2 separate regions of the Homo sapiens genome follow, and region 2 is linked to region 1. Evidence: promoter capture Hi-C in 16 types of primary human blood cells and fetal thymus (Javierre and others, 2016). All regions are on one chromosome and are shown on one strand. The core of a region is centred on a gene start or on the middle of the fragment in contact, and the rest is flanking DNA. Distances in the headings are between cores, read along the strand shown. Region 1 holds the start of IRF5 (interferon regulatory factor 5). Region 2 has its middle 20 kb from the start of TSPAN33.

Evidence for each region. Contacts are between HindIII fragments. The CHiCAGO score rates a contact against its expected background, and 5 or more counts as called.
Region 2: a fragment that was not itself captured here is called in contact with the fragment with the promoter of IRF5 in region 1 in 1 of 17 cell types (M1 macrophages); the score reaches 5.2 in M1 macrophages.

The regions. Positions count from the first base shown.
Region 1 is chr7:128,934,753-128,940,663 of GRCh38, reverse strand. It overlaps IRF5 (interferon regulatory factor 5), which reads right to left and starts at 2,737. Exons shown (of 9, transcript NM_001098629.3): 1 at 2,615-2,737. RefSeq lists enhancers at 41-270, 1,761-1,830, 1,864-2,447, 4,115-4,409, 5,825-5,911 and silencers at 2,111-2,870, 5,605-5,694. The HindIII fragment of the contact is 2,537 bases long and covers 1,292-3,828 here.
Region 2 is chr7:129,122,415-129,127,895 of GRCh38, reverse strand. It overlaps the pseudogene LOC407835. Among named protein-coding and RNA genes, the nearest start is that of TSPAN33, 20 kb to the left of the region's middle. RefSeq lists enhancers at 116-616, 4,772-5,041. The HindIII fragment of the contact is 2,855 bases long and covers 2,214-5,068 here.

The DNA.
Region 1 (5,911 bases), core at 1,488-3,987:
CTCCACCCGGCCCCAGGGGAAACGAAAGTGGCTAGACCGGGACAACTCAGAAACCAGACTCACTGTGGGCTGAGGGAGGGAGCCGAGTGGGTCCCCCAGACCAAATTTCCAACCTCCCACCCAGAGCTGTTCCCCGCACCCCAAACTTGCAGACAGTTTTTGTGCATTTAGTGTGGTTTATAACATGGGTGTGCACCCACCCATAGTTGTATCTGTAGACCCCTGAGAGGCCTTGGCCCTAGAATAGAGGGGTGCCAGTCACCAGCGGCACACAATTCTGGCCGAGCAAGGGTGGACAGAGGAAGCTCTGTCTGCACAGAATCGGGGAGAGCTTCCCTAATGACCCCCTGGGCTGAGGCCGTGCAGGCGCTGGTGCCGTTGGGGAGCTCAGAGGGTCCGGCTGCCTGCCCCCTACTGTCAGTCCAGCAGTCTGGCCCTGCCCAACACGGCTGTTTAATACAGAGCAAGGTTTTGAAATGATAACTCCGACCTCAGTGTCAGAGGGCCGCGTCCATACAGGCAGCTTAGGGAGGGGTGTGGAGGAGGAGCTCCCGTGACAAGCCCGGCTGTGATGAGCGAGAGTCTGTCCACCATGCCACAGAAGGGACTCAGCCTCAAGGCTTTTGCCTGCAGCTAGGTCCACACGAGCTCTAACCCGAACAGCATCCATCCTCCTAGAAGCTCCCTTCTGCCCAGAAAAGGGCTAGGTCTAATTCAGACCACCCCAATCAAGGCCCATGACTTTGGAAGTTCGGTGTCAGAACAGGTCTGCCTGCCAGGCTCCGGAGTCTCTGGGTGAAATGTATGGAGCCCTAGACCTAAGTCAATGGACCTGAGCCCCGGAAGGTGGGGAAATCCAACAGCCTGAGGAAGTCCCTACAATTGTGTGAGGCAGCGAAGCATCCAGTGGGCAGCCCTAGAGGACCTGCTGAGGTGGGGTAAGCCCACAGCTCACCCCAGGGCCATGCTGGAGTCCCAGGAGACAGTGCCCCCACCACCACCCAGGAGCTGCAATTCATGGGCACCAGGGACCCACTAGGGGAGGAAGTGCCACAGCAGTCCTAGTAAGAGTGGCCAGACAGCAGGCGCCCTGCTGCTCCCAGGGTTGGTCTGGGTCACATGTCTCCTTGCAAACCCACACCCAGCTCAGGGAGAGGACAAGGGGTTCCCTGTACAGGCCCTGACCCCCAAATCCCACCCCTCCGGGTCAGCTGCCCACACCCTGGGCCCTGCTGCCCACCTGGTCCAGACAGGCTGAGGCTCTGGGGCAAAAGGTGCCCAGAAAGAAGCTTCTTTCAGCTTCCTCCCAGGGTCAGGGTAGGGGAAGACCAGGGTACAGGGGAAAAACCCCAAAGTAGGGCCTTTAGATAAAAAGGGGTGATTTCCCAGTGCTTCCCTTGACTCTTGGAACCCCTCAGCCCCAGCACCCCAGGCCCCATAACTACTGGGGGTGGGGGCAGGAAGGGGAGGTCTTGCCAGAGGGCCTCCTGAGGGGCTACAGTTTCCTACATCGATACAGCCGAGCCCTCTCTGGTTCTGGTCACTTATCCCCATTCTGGGCCCTCGAGGAGCCCAGGCCCAGCCCAGTCCTCCGCCCCTGCTCCCCCCTCCCCTCCGCCCCCACCCCTCCCGCGTGCTCCGCTGGGGCACACCCCCTGGGCCAGCCCGCGGAGCCACCCCCACCTCCAGAGTCGGCCTCTGGACCTCTCCTCCTGCTGCTGGAGGAGCAGCACCCCGGTCCTCGCCCTGCTGTGTTCAGCGTGGCCGCGAGGCTGGGAAAGTCCCCCACTCCAGCCTCTGCTCCCAGGTACCCGCTCCCGCCCCTCCCGGGGTCCGGAGACAACCATCTCCCCACGCATCCCGGCCATGCTAGCCTCACTTTTCCTCCACGTTTAGCCTCTTCATTGTTGCCTTCTTAAGTTCTGGGACAGGACCTGAGGAAACCAGCCCAGGAACTATTGCGCCCCATCCTTTTCCGCTGCTCGGGGGACGAGAGTCTGCCATTCCCGGCCGCGAGCCCAGGGACGCAGCCTCTACCTGACACCATCTTCCCCCAAACTCTTGCACAGTTCCTGCCATTGGCCTGAAGATCCCGGGGGATGAACGCTTTAACCTCAACCTCTTTTCCGAAAGGGTGAGGGTGGCCCGGTAAGAGCAAGGGCGAGTGCATCGAAAGTAAGGATCGGGCCTCGCTCCTCTGTGGTCCAAGCCAGCCTCCAGCGGGGCTCCCGGGAACCCCCATTCTGGGCGATGGCGAGGGGGAGGGAGAGCAGCAGAGCCGGCGCCCCCCGCAGCGCTGCCCACTCCGCCGCCTGGGTCACTGGGCTCCCCGGGCGCCAGCACCCCAAACCGATCGGGGCGTGGGAGGCGCTTTGGAAGTCCCAGGCCGGCCGGGCGCACCCTGCTGTAGGCACCCACCCGAGCTCGCTTTCCAGGCGCAGCTGGACGCGGACCCCGCCCTACTCCAGTCTTCATCCCGCCGCCCGCAGGTGCCTGGGGGGCGCGGGGCCCAGTCTAGGCCTAGACTTGGGGGCAGTAGCCGGCACCGCTCCCGCCACCCTCGGGGCGCGCCGGGCGCGGACGCAGAGAGGAGAGCGCGGCGGCCGGGACCCACCTGTCTGCGGTGCGCCTGCGTGGCTGCGCCAGGGAGCACCGGCCGGGCGGCGGGACCAAGCTGAGCTCTGCCCAGGCTGCGCCTCCCGCCGGTCCGCCAACCTGCCGGGCACTTCCGCGTCTTGCCGCCCCCGCCCCTGGGCAGCTGCTGCTGAGCTCCGGGCGCGGGCAGTGCCCCGCCCCGCCCCGCGAATCCACTCCGGGCCCCGCACTGACCTGGCAACTGCAGATCCGGGCTGAGCCTCGGGCCAGGCCCAGGGCCTCCAGGGAGATGCCAGACGGCGCGGTGCCCTAGACTGGCCACTGGCTCTTTTGGCAATCTGGAATGGCAAAACTGTCATTTGACAACCCCGTACCTCCCGCTGCAGTGCTCAGTTGGGCCCTGGGAGAGGGTGGGGTGCTTCCCCACTCTGGTCCTCCGGGGCTGCACACAAATGAGGGCGCAGTGTGGCCGACCCACAGCTCCAGGCCCTCCTCTCGCCTGCCTACACCCCTGGCGAGGGTGGCTCTCGCCCTAGAACACAGTCGCTGCCCCCAGGATCCAGACACCCCTTCCAGATGTGCTTGCAGGCGGGAATCCTCTAGTCACTCTGTGCCTTTCTCATCCTCAAACCCTGCACCTGTCTCGCCCCAGCTCCCCTAAGTCGCCTTCCAGTCATCCCAGGGGCAGCGGCGTGGTCGCCTGTCCCACCTCCTCTCACTACTACCTTGACCGTCGACCTGTGGTTCTGAACCGTTTTCGATTCCATAAAGAACCTCACCCCAGAACCTCCACCTTCACACACCTCCTGTTCCTTCTCATGGAATGTTCTTCGCTTGGTAACTCTTGCTCTTCAAAATTTCTGTTTCTGAAATTTTCAGCATCGCCTTCTCTGGAAAGTCTGCCTTGACTTCCCCTCCCAGGTGGGGTTCCAGGGTGCAAATAGCTTCCTGGTTGATTTTGCTTATGATTTTGTTATGGATTGCCAGGGGTTTGGTCCAGGTCTGGCTGCTCACCGCACAGAAAGCCTATCACTGAGACAGCGAGTATTGCCAGGGAAGACTTTATTCCGGTGACATCAGCCAGTGAGCTGTTGAGAGGGGAGACAAACCTCCAATCCATCCCTCCCCTTGACTAAAGTTAGGGGCTTATATAGCAGGGAAGGAAAACAGGAGGGACAAGGAAGAGGAATTGGTCAACAGGCAGCAGGTGTACTGATGTAAGTGTCTCAAGCTTCAGTTCTATGAGCATCTGGCTTTTTGGAAAATTCAGCGGGTTTCAATTTTGATGTCTGATTTCCACTCGAATCAGCTTACTCAGGAACCTCCCTCCTGTCTTTTCATTGTTCATTTTATTTTATTTTATTTTTTGATATGGAGTCTTGCTCTGTCACCCGGGCTGGAGTGCAGCAGTGCGATCTCAGCTCACTGCAACCTCTGCCTCCCCAGTTCAAGCGATTCTCCTGCCTCAGCCTCCCAAGTAGAGACGGGGTTTCACCATGTTGGCCAGGCTGGTCTCGAGCTCCTGACCTCAGGCGATCCACCCGCCTTGGCCTCCCAAAGTGCTGGGATTACAGGCGGGAGCCACTGCGCCAAGCAGAGCCTTGTATTTTTAACAAATAAAGTAGTATTTGTTGATGAATCAGAACTTTGACCTTCCCTCCCCTCCCTTCTCCTGGGTTGAACTTTACCTTTAACAAGTTAAAAAAAGACACTCATGTGTTAACGTTTTTTTTTTTTCTCTTCTGTATCTCTCCCTCTTTCCTGACCTTTGAAGCCCTAATATGAAGTCGAAATATCATTATATATAAGTATTTTATTATTTGTATCTGCTGAGTATTTCATTATTTCATATTTTTAAAATTTAAAGTATGGATGGGGAAAATGTGAATGGGTAGATCGTTTTATATTTCTTTCTTTAAAAATGAAATTGCTAGGCCAGGCACGGTGGCTCACATTTGTAATCCCAACACTTTGAGAGGCTAAGGCAGGCAGATCACTTGAGTCCAAGAGTTCGAGACCAGCCTGGGCAATATGGCAAAACCTTGTCTCTACAAAAAATACAAAAATTAGCCTGGCGTGGTGACACACACCTATAGTTCCACCTACTTGGGAGGCTGAGGTGGGAGAATTGCTTGAACCCAGGAGGCACACCACCGCACTCCAGCCTGGGCGTAGAAGTGAGATCTTATCTCAAAATAATAATAATAAAATGAAATTGCTATTTCAAAAGTGGCTCCCCACAAAATGGGAACCTTTTTCACTGGAGGTCAGTTATGCTTAATAGAAAAATATTCTATGCTGGTCGTATCTGGAGCAATAGCTAAGAAGAGCCTTCTTTTGTTATCAAATACTCCTCACCCATTCTGAGGGACCGTGAGACCCTAGAATTCTGCCCTCTGCCCCCTTCCCACTGTCCATCTTGCTCAGGTGAGGCCCCTTCCTTAGAGCCTCTGAACCTCAAGAAGCAGCACGGGCTGCGTGCAGAGAAGGGGCTTGCACCTGGCTTTGCTGTATTCCAGCCAAGTGGCCTTAAGTAGGACCTCAAATCTCATTTCCTCGTCTCTAAAAGGGGGATGATGTTACCAAGCCGGCAGCATTGATATGGGGCTCCCGGGATAGAGGCTATGCAGGGGCTCAGCTTGGCTCAGATCCTGACTTCCCTCAACTGAAAGAACCTGAGCCAAGAATCATCTGGGGCCAGAGACATGGCCCAGGAGAAAGGAAGGACAGAGAGCAGCACTCCAGTGTTTCCAGGATCTGGGATCCCTTGGCCTCCCAGTGCCATCCTGGGGGTGGAAGGGCAAGTAGAGGGGAAGTGAAGCCACACCCGGCCCTTGTGTGAGCACTCCCATTTCCCCTTGATGGGCCAGGAGGCGGTGGGGACAGGGAGGTCTGTCCGGGCCCCCCACTCCCCACAGTGAGATGGCCCCTTCCCCCATTTCCCCTGGCTGGAATATCACAGACTGAGGGTGTGGTAGGAGGCACCCTCCCCTGACTCGAGTAGAAGCTACGCTGTGTGAGCGAGTGTAGAGTGGGGTGGCTGGGGTGGGGAGCAGGGGGGAGGAGGGAAGCCGTGTCACCAAAGGGAACTGAAAGAAACCCAGAGGCCCACTGGGCAGCTGAACAATGCACCCTGGCTCTGGAACAGCCCCCTTCAGTGCAGCCTGGGTTGATGACAACTGCCTTTGCCTCTCAAAACCTCTACCCCAGGAAACCCACCCCCTCGGCCTGGGCTCTCAGGGGTCCCCAGGCTGACTGTCCTATTTCTCAGAAACCCCGAGTTTCTGAGAACTTGTTGGCTGGACATCAGGCTCTG
Region 2 (5,481 bases), core at 2,392-4,891, 190 kb before region 1:
CCAGCAGGAGAGGAGACCCCCGTTCCTGCGTGCGCAGTTGTCGCCCCGCCACGGTGCTCTCCGCAGGGGTGAGGCAGGAGGGTGGGTGGAGGCGCCAGCCTGTCCTCAGCTGGAAGGGCGGGGCGTGGACAGGGACGGTGGGCAGGTCACCAGCGGGACGCGGGGAGCCTGGCCACTGTTACACGGCGGTGCGCGTGGGTGTGCCGGGCTGGTTCAGCCCCAGGGTTTTACACAACTAGCAGGCAAAATCCGCTTCTTTCACCTCGGACCGCTTGATGAAGGCGTGGTTTGTGAGCATCTTTAGGTCCGCCCGCTCCGTTGGGTTTTTGATGAGGCATTTATTGACAAACTCCTGGAAGTCGGGGGTGAACACACCGTTGGGCAGCTTAGGAGGCGGCTCTTTCACAATATAGTCCAGCAGTTCGAAGATGGCCATGGCGGGCAGGCTGTCCATCCCGTAACCGCTGTTGGGGCGCCCGGGGGACCCTGGCCAAGAGGAGATGCTGTGAGGCTCTCCTTCTTCCCTGTCGACCACGGGCTGGCCAAAGATGGCCTCCAGCTCCTTGGCGTCGGGCGGGGGGATGGGGTACCTTTCGATGGCCAGCTCCACCAGGGACAGGTCCATGCTCCAGATGACCGACTGCACCGAGTAATGTGTGCCCTGCAACCGCTCCGGAGCCATGTAGGAGCGCGTGCCCACGAAGGAGTTGGCCATGGAGTCGATGAGCTGGCCGCTCACCCCGAAGTCACACAGCTTGATCTCCCCTCTAGAGTTCACGAGGATGTTGGAGGGCTTCACATTTCGGTGCATGATCTGGTGCTTCTCTCGGAGGTACGCCAAGCCCCGGAGAACCGCAATGCTGACTTTCCCCAGGATGTCCTCGGGAATCCTCTTGGCCTCTTTCAGCCCCTGGTCCAGGGAGCCGCCATCCATGTGCTCCATGCAGATGCTGATCTCCCTGTCACAGTAGAAGGCCCCGTAGAAGCCCACGATGTACGGTGAGTTGCACTCGTGCAGGACCTGGTGCTCGCGGATGATCTGGTTCCGGATGGCCGGCTTGATCTCAAGGTGGATCAGCTTCCTGGCCATGATGAGGCCCGAGGGTCTGTGCTGGACTTTGGTGACCACCCCGCCGTTGCCCGCGTCCAGCTCTGAGGTCCTTTCGAAGTCATCGTCTTTGAGTTCGCCGACCTTGGCTTTCTGGGTGAGAAAGGCTTCCAGCCGCTTCTGCTGCTCGTCAAGTTCCAGCTCCTCCAGCTTCTTCTGCAGGTCCACCAGGTTTGCCTCGGAGGCGCCCTCGCTGGTTGGGGACGGGCCCTCGGCGATGGTAGGGTTGATGGTGAGCGCCGGCAGCATCGGCTTCCTCCGGGCCAGCATCCGGGCTCCGCGGGCCGGTGGCGGCGGCGCCTCTAGCCTGGGCCCGTAGTGGGCGGGCCGGGAGCGTTCGGCGCCTACGCGAGCCCGGGGCTGCGACCGCGGCCCAGGCCGGCGTCGGGGCGGCCGAGGGCGGGCGGCGCTGCGGGCCTGGTCCGAGGGTAGCCGAGGGGCGCTGGGGCTGAGGCGAGCGAGCCGCCGCCGCTGCCGAGGCCCGAGGGAGGCTGACGCTGCAGCCGGAGTCCAAGAGCTTTTCAAACTTCTTATATTTTAAATGTGTTAATTCATTTAATCCTTAAAACGATGACATGAGGTAGGTACTATTATTATCCGCACTTCACAAATGAGGAAACTGAGGCAAACAGAGGTCACCTAGCTTGCCCAAGGTTAAACAGACAGCCACATCCAGAAAGCTATAGAGTCTGGCTTTAAACCCAGATAGACCAGCTCTAGGTCTGTGATCATAACCACTGAACTTTACTGCTTCTTACAGCAAGAGTGTATCTGACGAAGTCGTGACTTGGAACTGGCCAAGTCTAGGAAGGATCCAGAGTTTAATTCTGAAGAAGGGAAAGGAGGCTGATATTAAACATGCAATATTTCCAGGCTGTGCTCAGATCTTCATGTAGCTCATTTATGATTACAGAATACATTGCTAAAGAAAAATGGTAAAGAAACGATACTCGTATTTTGAGCAAATCCCCCTCCTCAGACTCCATTTCTAATTACTGCCATTTTCTGAAAGAGTTGTAAGCAATAAATTCTAACTCTGTTAGAAGAGAAGAAAATGTACTGCTCAGGAAGAGTCCTGCAAAACAGAAAAACTTCAAGACAAGCTTAAGCAGTGGTTGCAGATTTATTGCACATTACATTATTTGGATGGACAGGTGAATTTTCTTTGTCCCATAATGTCTTAAAATTTTTGAATTTGAGCTGGGCACGGTGGCTCATGTCTGTAATCCCAGCATTTTGGGAGGCCAAGATGGGAGAATCACTTGAGCCCAGGAGTTCAAGACCAGCCTGAACAACATAGAAAGACCTCTGTCTCCACAATTTTTTTTTTAAAAAAAATTAGCTGGGCATAGTGGTGAGCACCTGCAGTCCCAGCTACTCCGGAGGCTGAGGTGGGAGGATCATTTGAGTCCAGGAGTTTGAAGCTGCAGCGAGCTGTGATCATGCCACTGTACTCCAGCCTGGGCAAGAGAGCTAGACCTTGTCTCAAAAAAAAAAAAAAAATTGAATTTGAATGCTTTTAGCTTGAGCTTACTCTCTCCAATTAGCCATCATCTTTACCACTCCTAGTTACAAACACTATATTACTTCCCTGGACCTAGTAGGCATGCATAGAGGGAGATAGAGATCATTTGTGCAACTAGAGTGATACAGCCAATGAGTAGTCAGTAAAGAACGGAAATTAGGGGCACGCCATTATCAGGGACAGGTCTGTTAGAATCCCATAAAAAATTCCAGTTGTATTCAACCTCCACTGACAATGACGTGGTTCCAGATCACAGTGGATGGAGGAGACTCACCATGCAGAACTGAGTGACGCAGCAGGAGTAGCATCGTGGCAAAGGTAAGAGGTGAGGCTGTGCCAACCAGAACAGGCTGTATTGAGGAGGAGCAAGAAATAAGGTTGGAGGTGTTCGCGAAGGGTTTCAAAGGGCAGGCAGAAGAGTTCAGATTGTGTGAGGTGGAAAACAAATAAGGTTTGTTATTTGGGGCCCTGGAGTGCCTTGGAGATATCCTGTCTCTGGAATATCTGGAATTGCAACGGGAGTAAGAAGTTAGAAGAGCGGCTGTAGATGTGAAGAGGAGGAAAGGATCCAGGGGAATCGAAGTGAGGAGGTTGGCTTTTGTCTGTAGAATCAGGTCTGGTCAGAGAGGAAACTGGGCAACGCAATCATGATCTCAGGGGAAGCATCATGATTTGGTGGAGTTGAGACTGGGGCCGTGGACTGCAAACAAGGGGTTTGGGGATATTTCCTATCAGGAGCAGTCTCACATCCATATAGGGGTAGGCCACTGTGCACTTTTTATGTGAGAGGTTCCATAACGTTTCTCTTCCCTTACTTCTCACCCTCACCAACTTGTCTGAAATTCCCACCATTCTCTAATCCAATTCCCATTATGGTTAGGTTAAGGTGTGGAATCACTATTTAAAATTCAAATATAGGCTAGGTGCAGTGAGTGGCTCACGCCTGTAATCCCAGCACTTTGGGAGACTGAGGCAGGAGGATCACTTGAGGCCAGGAGTTCGAGACCAGCCTGGGCAACATGGCAAAACCCTGTCTCTACTAAAAATACAAAAACTAGCCAGCCGTGGTGGCTCACACCTGTAGTCCCAGCTACTCCGAATGCTGAAGCACAAGAATCGCTTGAATCCGGGAGGCGGAGGTTGCAGTGAGCCAAGATCGCACTACTGCACTCCAGCCTGGGTGACTGAGACACTGTCTCAAAAAAATAAAAATAAAAATAAAAATAAAATATTAAAAAGAAAATGCAGAAAATGCAAAGATTTCTAGGAGGGATACCCAGACCAATATCTGCACTTCAAATCTTAGAAGTTAAACATTTATCAAGACATGATTCTGTACACCCTCCATTCAAGCCACCAGAAATCTGAGACAGAATCTCATGTGTCTGAGACTCGACCACTCTGATTTTGAAGTGAAATTATTTCAAATGCTTAAATGGGTAGCACTGAGTGTTTGTCTGTTATTTTTCCAAGCCCAGCACCTATTCCCCGTTCTGGTACCAGCATGCTAGATTTCCTTTGGGATGCCACCCCACCTCCTGTCTCAGGCTCAGTGAGCATGGGAGAGATCTACCCTTCCACCTGGCAGGTGGAACGCCGGACTCTGTTCTGGCCAATCAGAGCCCAGGGATGGTTATGCGCTCTAACTTGGTCCAGTCAGAATGAAGCCTCTAATTTAGTTGGGGAGGAGGACCATTACTGAAAGGGATTCCCTCTCTCTTTTGCTGGGACCCCCTGGGATTACAGATGACCTGCAGCCACTGGGGGCTACCCCAGGGCTCCTGAGAGAGAAGGTAACACTGAGGAAAGGTAGAGCTGAGACAGGGTTAAACCAAGTCCCAGTGACATAGTTTGAGCCACAAGATCAGTGGTGCCTGAAACAAGCCCTAACCTTAGACTTTTCAGTTATGCGAATCAGTGAAATTGTGTGGTTGTTGTTTGTTGGTTTGGTGTTTTGTTTCATTTTGTCTAAGTCAGATAAAAATGGATTTTCAGTTATCTTGAAACTGAAAATCTGCTGACTGGCACGCCATCCCGCTGGCTTGTGTGCTGTGCACATTAACAAGACTCACCTTTTCTTAGGATTCATCCTATGTGCAAGATTACCAGGATGTAGCCAGATTCAGGATGCCTGTTTTTATAGCTTAGCTACAGAGTTTTTCTTCACCTCTAGCAATTGCCTATGCCCTTTCAGCGGCCTCAGCAGGGAGAAGCACAGTGGGACTCCTTGAAAGGCAGATCCAGAAGGCTGGTTATGTGGACAGTTCACCACAGTTAACTGGGGTAACCACAGTTGGCCTGGGCAGTCCAGAAGCAGATGACCCACCCCCATACTGTGGGCAGCTCTTCCTGCAGTGCTTAACTCCAGAAAAAAACCCTCCACCAGTTCCTTACTAAGGTGGTAAACAACCCTAAGAAATCTGGCTCTCTAAGCTTGGGACAGCCAAGAAATGAGTCAGCCTTCTGGAGAAACCCCCCTTGCCACAGCCTGTGCTTCCCCATTTCTGCCAGGGCCCCAGCCCCAGCCCCAGCCCCCATGTCAGTAAAGCCTATGCATTTCTTTCAAGAGCATGACAAAACCTCATATCTGAAAAGCACTGAAGTGCTGTACCTCTTTCAAAGTACTTGTGCATTCATTATCTCATTAGGATACCAGATTTGCTATTTTTTTCTTCAGATTCTTTTTTTTTTTTTTTTAACTCAAATCCAGCAGAGTTTTTTCATGTGGTTCTCAATGAGACTTGAGAAGAGAAAATCAGAATTCAATCCAAAAGCACAGCTTTTCTAGAGACATAAATATAATCCTCCTCTCTCATGCCAAAAATAACAAGGGGGCAGAGGTTAGATT